Linked DNA regions of Homo sapiens: region 1 is linked to region 2. Evidence: promoter capture Hi-C in 16 types of primary human blood cells and fetal thymus (Javierre and others, 2016). All regions are on one chromosome and are shown on one strand. The core of a region is centred on a gene start or on the middle of the fragment in contact, and the rest is flanking DNA. Distances in the headings are between cores, read along the strand shown. Region 1 overlaps SNX27 (sorting nexin 27). Region 2 holds the start of RORC (RAR related orphan receptor C).

Evidence for each region. The method cuts DNA at HindIII sites, captures the fragments that hold promoters and counts their contacts. A CHiCAGO score of 5 or more calls a contact.
Region 1: a contact is called between a fragment that was not itself captured here and the fragment with the promoter of RORC in region 2, in 2 of 17 cell types (M1 macrophages and naive CD4 T cells). The highest score is 6.8, in M1 macrophages.

The regions. Positions count from the first base shown.
Region 1 is chr1:151,637,843-151,640,542 of GRCh38, forward strand. It overlaps SNX27 (sorting nexin 27), which reads left to right. Exons shown (of 12, transcript NM_001330723.2): 2 at 1,046-1,277. Among named protein-coding and RNA genes, the nearest start is that of SNX27, 27 kb to the left of the region's middle. The HindIII fragment of the contact is 1,372 bases long and covers 744-2,115 here.
Region 2 is chr1:151,830,525-151,833,224 of GRCh38, forward strand. It overlaps RORC (RAR related orphan receptor C), which reads right to left and starts at 1,278. Exons shown (of 11, transcript NM_005060.4): 1 at 1,201-1,278. The coding sequence starts at 1,240. RefSeq lists an enhancer at 1-586. The HindIII fragment of the contact is 14,534 bases long and covers 1-2,700 here.

The DNA of each region.
Region 1 (2,700 bases), core at 180-2,679, 190 kb before region 2:
AACAGGACTGAAAAAGAATTTAACTCTAAAGGGTAGATAAGCTTTAAATGTTAAATTGATTAGAGGTCAGGTGTGTATTTCCTACCTCTCTTGGGATAGCCATGGGAGGGAACCTCCAGGCCTGCTGCCCAGTGGTTTTTGCTGAGAGAGCAGCTGGATCAGCATTCTGGAAGGTAGTTTGGTTTGCTGAGGGAGTCTTGTGAGACTCAGCATCTTTCTTGACAAAATACTTCATCTAAACCTTGTACTTTGTTTGCCTTATTTCAGCCTTTTGTACACAGCAAAACAGGAAGGAAAATTAGTAGGCTGACCATATAATTATAGGTGTATATTTTTTAGTTTGGACTGATTACACAGGACTCTAAATGAGATAGCATAGAGCAGGAAAAAAGTTGATGGAATCCCAAGAGGTTAATTGAATTGGAAACTAGTGTATGTGAAGAGTAATACCATTTAGCTCCCAAAGTAATGAAACTTGGCATAAAGGAAAATTAAGTTGACTGATTTGAGATATGGAGAGAAATTGGATGTAAATGTAAAGGAATTATCTTCAGTCATAACTTTTTTTGAGTCTCTATTTACAAATTAAGAGAATTTATTTTGTGAAGGTTCTTTTAACAGAATTCCTTTGAGGTTTAAAAAGGACAAAGTACAATTCAAGTGGCAGGGCTGTCAAAAGCCACTTTGATTGAATTGTATACATGCTTAGTTAGAATGAGGAAATTGGATTGTTTGACTGAAAAAGCTTTGTTTCCTCCTCAGCTTCAGCCTCTTTCCATGTGCGTTCCTGAAGCTATGTGTGGGATATTAGTATAGAGGAAGGGGAGGTCTTCTCACCTCTTTCCATTTTTCCCCCCGCCATAAGTTCACAAAGTTTTTCACATTAGAAACTGTTAAAACATAAACAACTTTTCTGGAACCAAATTAATCTTTTGACTTCATGGTTCATACCGTGTGACACTGGAGTTTGGGCAGGAGGGTGGAGATACAAGGTGTTTGGACCCTTCTGGTTTATGGGATTGTCTTTTTCCCTTTTTCCCCTTAGGAACCACGTGAATGTTGAGGGGGCGACACACAAGCAGGTGGTGGACCTGATTCGAGCAGGCGAGAAGGAATTGATCTTGACAGTGTTATCTGTACCTCCTCATGAGGCAGATAACCTAGATCCCAGTGACGACTCGTTGGGACAATCATTTTATGATTACACAGAAAAGCAAGCAGTGCCCATATCGGTCCCCAGATACAAACATGTGGAGCAGAATGGTGAGAAGTTTGTGGTGAGTGTCAGCCCAACTCGATCCTCGAACATCTAGCTTTGTTTCCCCTAGTCTTATAATTATGAAACTATTATAGTGGTAGATAAAAGGCTGCAACCTAGGTCAGTTTGTCTACCAGGAGGATGAGTTCACACATAAATAAAAGACACTGACCCTGATTTATTGCAGGGGGTGAATTACAGTAGTGGAAAAGAGTCCTACTCAGCTTGAGTATAATTCCATTTTATTTTTAGATAGTTTCAAGTTTGCATTCTGGTTTGTCGTAAACGTGTGAGTTTTTGTTTAGTTTCTTTTTTGTTTGTTCTTTTGTTGGTTGCCGTATCTCTTTGCTAATAGTATCTTATTTACTGTTGATTCTGTGGTGCTATAGGGCAAGATTAATGTAAAAGGATGGTGTCCTTCAAGATATTTGGGTAATAGAGAGGTTCACCCATTTCAGAACTTAGATGTCTCTACTCTTCTTTCCACATCATGTTCTTTTTCATTTTCTTTGGAGATATCCGTGTGAATGATTAACTGTGGTTTTTCCCACGAGTTTCCTGAATGCAATTCCCATGAGCTGTTTCACACATTTCTAATCTGTTGCTGTTGTAGCTATGCAGGAAAGCCCATCTTGAATTTTTAGTGATGTGTGCTAGCCCCTTTGCTGAATGCCTTTGTTCTTCAGAGCCTAATTGCCACTGATAGCTCAGTCTACTTAATTTTTCTTTTGGTTGCAATATGCTTTATTTGCCTTTAATTATTTGTGGAGTGTTGATATAATGAGAAATGTTCATTATTCTTAGTAGAAAATGCAGTGGGTTCTGTTAGATGCTGGCAAACAGACTACAGGTTTTAAAGCTTAACAGTTGACTAAAGTTACAGTCTCTAAAACTGAGATTTATCCTCTGCATAGGAACGAGCTACTAAACATTTATGGTAAATTCTTTTTAGTGAAGAGATAAGAAAAGCAAGGAAGCTAAAAGAGTTGCAGAGGATCAAATAATGCTTGGTTGCATCTGTAATTAGCTGTAGATAATGGCATATAGGTTTTATTTCAGCATGGACTTCTGTAGTCTTAGAACCACACACAGAATTTAGAGTTTTATGCTTCCTAAGTGCTAACTTTGAGTCATAAGGCATGTAAGAAGTTGAAATCAAGGTCACATCCTAAAAGTAGAGCAGTCTGGATGTTGAGACCTTTTGGGAATTACCTAAAACCTTGGAAACCTGAGAAAAGGAATAATACTACCAATTGTACCTTTGTTTATTTTTATTTTTATTATATATATTTTTTAAGACGAAGTCTCACTCTGTCCCCCAGCCTGGGGTACAGTGGTGTGATCTTGGCTCACTGCAATCTCTGCCTCCCGGGTTCAAACAATTCTGCCTCAGCCTCCCAAGTAGCTGGGATTACAGGTGCGCACCACCATGCCCTGCTAAG
Region 2 (2,700 bases), core at 28-2,527:
CCCTTCAACCATGCCCTATACCCCCTATAGCTTCCCTAACCTCTGACTCTATTCTGTTATTTTTTTCCTTCTGCTGTTCAGTCTTGACACCTGACATACACACACACACACACACACACACACACACACACACACACAGTGCCCTTCTGCCCGGGAGATGCTCCCCACTGGCAGGCCGTGGTCACTAGGCTGTGTGGAGGCGAGTGGCCTGATGGCCTGGGCTCTGCTGGGGTGAGGGAGGAGAAAAGACTGCCCCGAGGTGGCAAGGCCCCACCCAGCCCCGCCCACCTCCCCTTGCTCCTGCCTGGCCCCACCCAGCTTCCTCCCTGACGTGGCACCGGCTCCTGGCCTCTAGCCTTGCACCTCAGAGCAGTCCTGTGGTGGGGGTGCTCCCCTTGCTCACCCAGGCAGCCAGTTCTTCCTCCACCAGGTGGCCCTGGAGCTTGGTGGCTCTGGCCCTCAAACTTTCCTCCTCCATGCTCACAGCTGACCAAGCCTGTGGCCCTGCGATCCTGCTCTGAGGGGGTTCCTGACTTGGACCATGGGTGGGGCCAAGGACGGCCTGACATTCTGTCCTTCCCTGCTGATGGCCCAGTGCCCCACATTCTCTGCAGAGATGAAATCCCACATCCCTGGGTGAGTGGCGAGGAAAGGACCAGGCTACGTGGTCATGGGCAGCTGACAGGGTGTGGTTCCCCCTGCCACACTCCCCAAGTCTGTCACTCCTTAAAGGACAGGTTTCTCCACTGGTGAATGAACAGAAGGTGGAGCAGCCAGCCTCCCGGCCACTGCTGTCTGGGGTCCTGGCCAGATCAAGGAAGCAGTGTCCCTGTGCCTCCTGGGGGGTAAGCCCACACCTGGGAGGGCCTGTCCACATTCTGACCCCTCGCTGGGTCTAGATCTGGCTCCCCTGACTTGGCTCTTCCCTCCCCATCTACCCTCCAACCTGTTTCTTCCTTCTCCCGCTTCTCCCTTTCTTTCCTGTTTCTCTCCTTTTGCGATTTCTTCTCCTCTGTCATCTCCCCAGCCCCTCCTCCTGTTTCTCCTCCAGTTTCACTCCCTGCCAACCCAGGGCTTTCTCCTCTGCACTCTTGTCCCTCCCTCCCCTCCTCACTTCTTGCCCAGTCTCTTGCCATTTCTGCCCTCCTCTGAACCTCCAGCAGTCTCTTCCACCTGCAGGCAGGGCCATGGGCCTCTTACCCCGTGAGGCTCGGTGCTGTCTCTGTGGGGCCCTGTCCATGGGGCAGCTCCCTTGGTGCCGTCCTGGCTGCCCTGGCTGCCCAGGAGGGCAGGGAGCAGGGCCCAGGGGAGGGAGGAGGGCGGAGGGTGGAAGGCGGGAGCACCTGGCCCTCCAGCAGGCAGGGAAAAGGAGTGGCTGGCAGAGTGTCCTGGCACCAGGAGGGGACATGAGGAGAGACCAGTGGACCAGTGCATGGAGCCTTGAGGAGAAACAGGACAGGAGAAAGGAAGGGAACTAGCATTTATTAATCACTTACTGTGTGCTGGGCCCTTTGCAGGACACTTTATGTAAATCCATGCTTTTACTTTGTGTAAATATTCACAGCACCCACCACAGGGAAACATTATTATTCCAGATTGATCAGTGAGTGGAGGGATTCTCAGAGATATTAATGATTTTGCCCAAGGACTCACACAAGAACAATAAATGGGTGAGCTATGATTTGGACCCAAGTCTTTGTGACTTTAGAATCCTGTGATTTCTACCTAAGACAGGTGACAGGCATAGGGGAGATGGAGAGGGCAGGTTTGGGGGACTGTGTCTCTTCTCTAGGATGCAGTCAGACTCCTCCCAGTGACTGTTCAGTTCCCTGAGGCCTCTGCCTGCTCGGCCCCTGCCCCTAACCCTTGCTGCTCTTGCCAGGACTCCCTGACCCCCTGATGCTTCTACGTGCTCCTCATCTGTTGGGGCAAGGGGCAGGCCTGGAGGAGTGCCTGGAGGCAGAGAAGCCATGGTGGGGAAGAGGAGAGGAGAGATGCTGCACTGGACTCATTGGGAGAAGGAGAGGCTCCCAGACCTAGTGGCCCACACTGAGGCCTGCAGTGAAGGCTCTGAAGGGGGCCAAGAGGACGAGGCTTCTGGGGATCCTGGTGCTGCTTTTCTCCTGCATGGCCTGGGCCCAGAGTTTGATTAGCTGGGCCTGACTCTCCTGGTTACCCAACAAGCAACTGGCCAGGGGCCAGGCTGCAGCAAGAGGCTCCCTGGCACCTCCTCCTGCTCTCGTTCCCAGCTGGTAAACAGCAGAGCAGGAGTCAGCCATGCCACAGCCTCGTGACTCGCCCACTCCCCCCCACCTGGTGCACGTGGCACCTGGCATGGAGAGGGCAAGCAGCTGTCCCTTCCCTCTTCTGCCGTCTCGTCTCGCCATCCTCCACTCCTGCCCAACCCTGGAGCTTCACACTCTGCTACCATCAGCACCTCTGTTCTTAGGTAGCTCCCAGAGTCTCCCCATGGCTGCAGATTGAGAGATAAAGGTAGAAGTGGAGAAGGACTTTTCAACTCCTAGGGTCATTGACAGTGGATGAGTAGTGAGAAAGAGGAGGGGAAGTTTTGGGGACCTTCTGCACTGAGTCTAAGGGTATGTGCCTATGCCTCTGAGGCTCTGATTATCCCCCGTGTTCTTTTGGTAAATGTGGGCCCACGCATCCATGTATGCATCTCTGCACAGAACAGGATGTTGG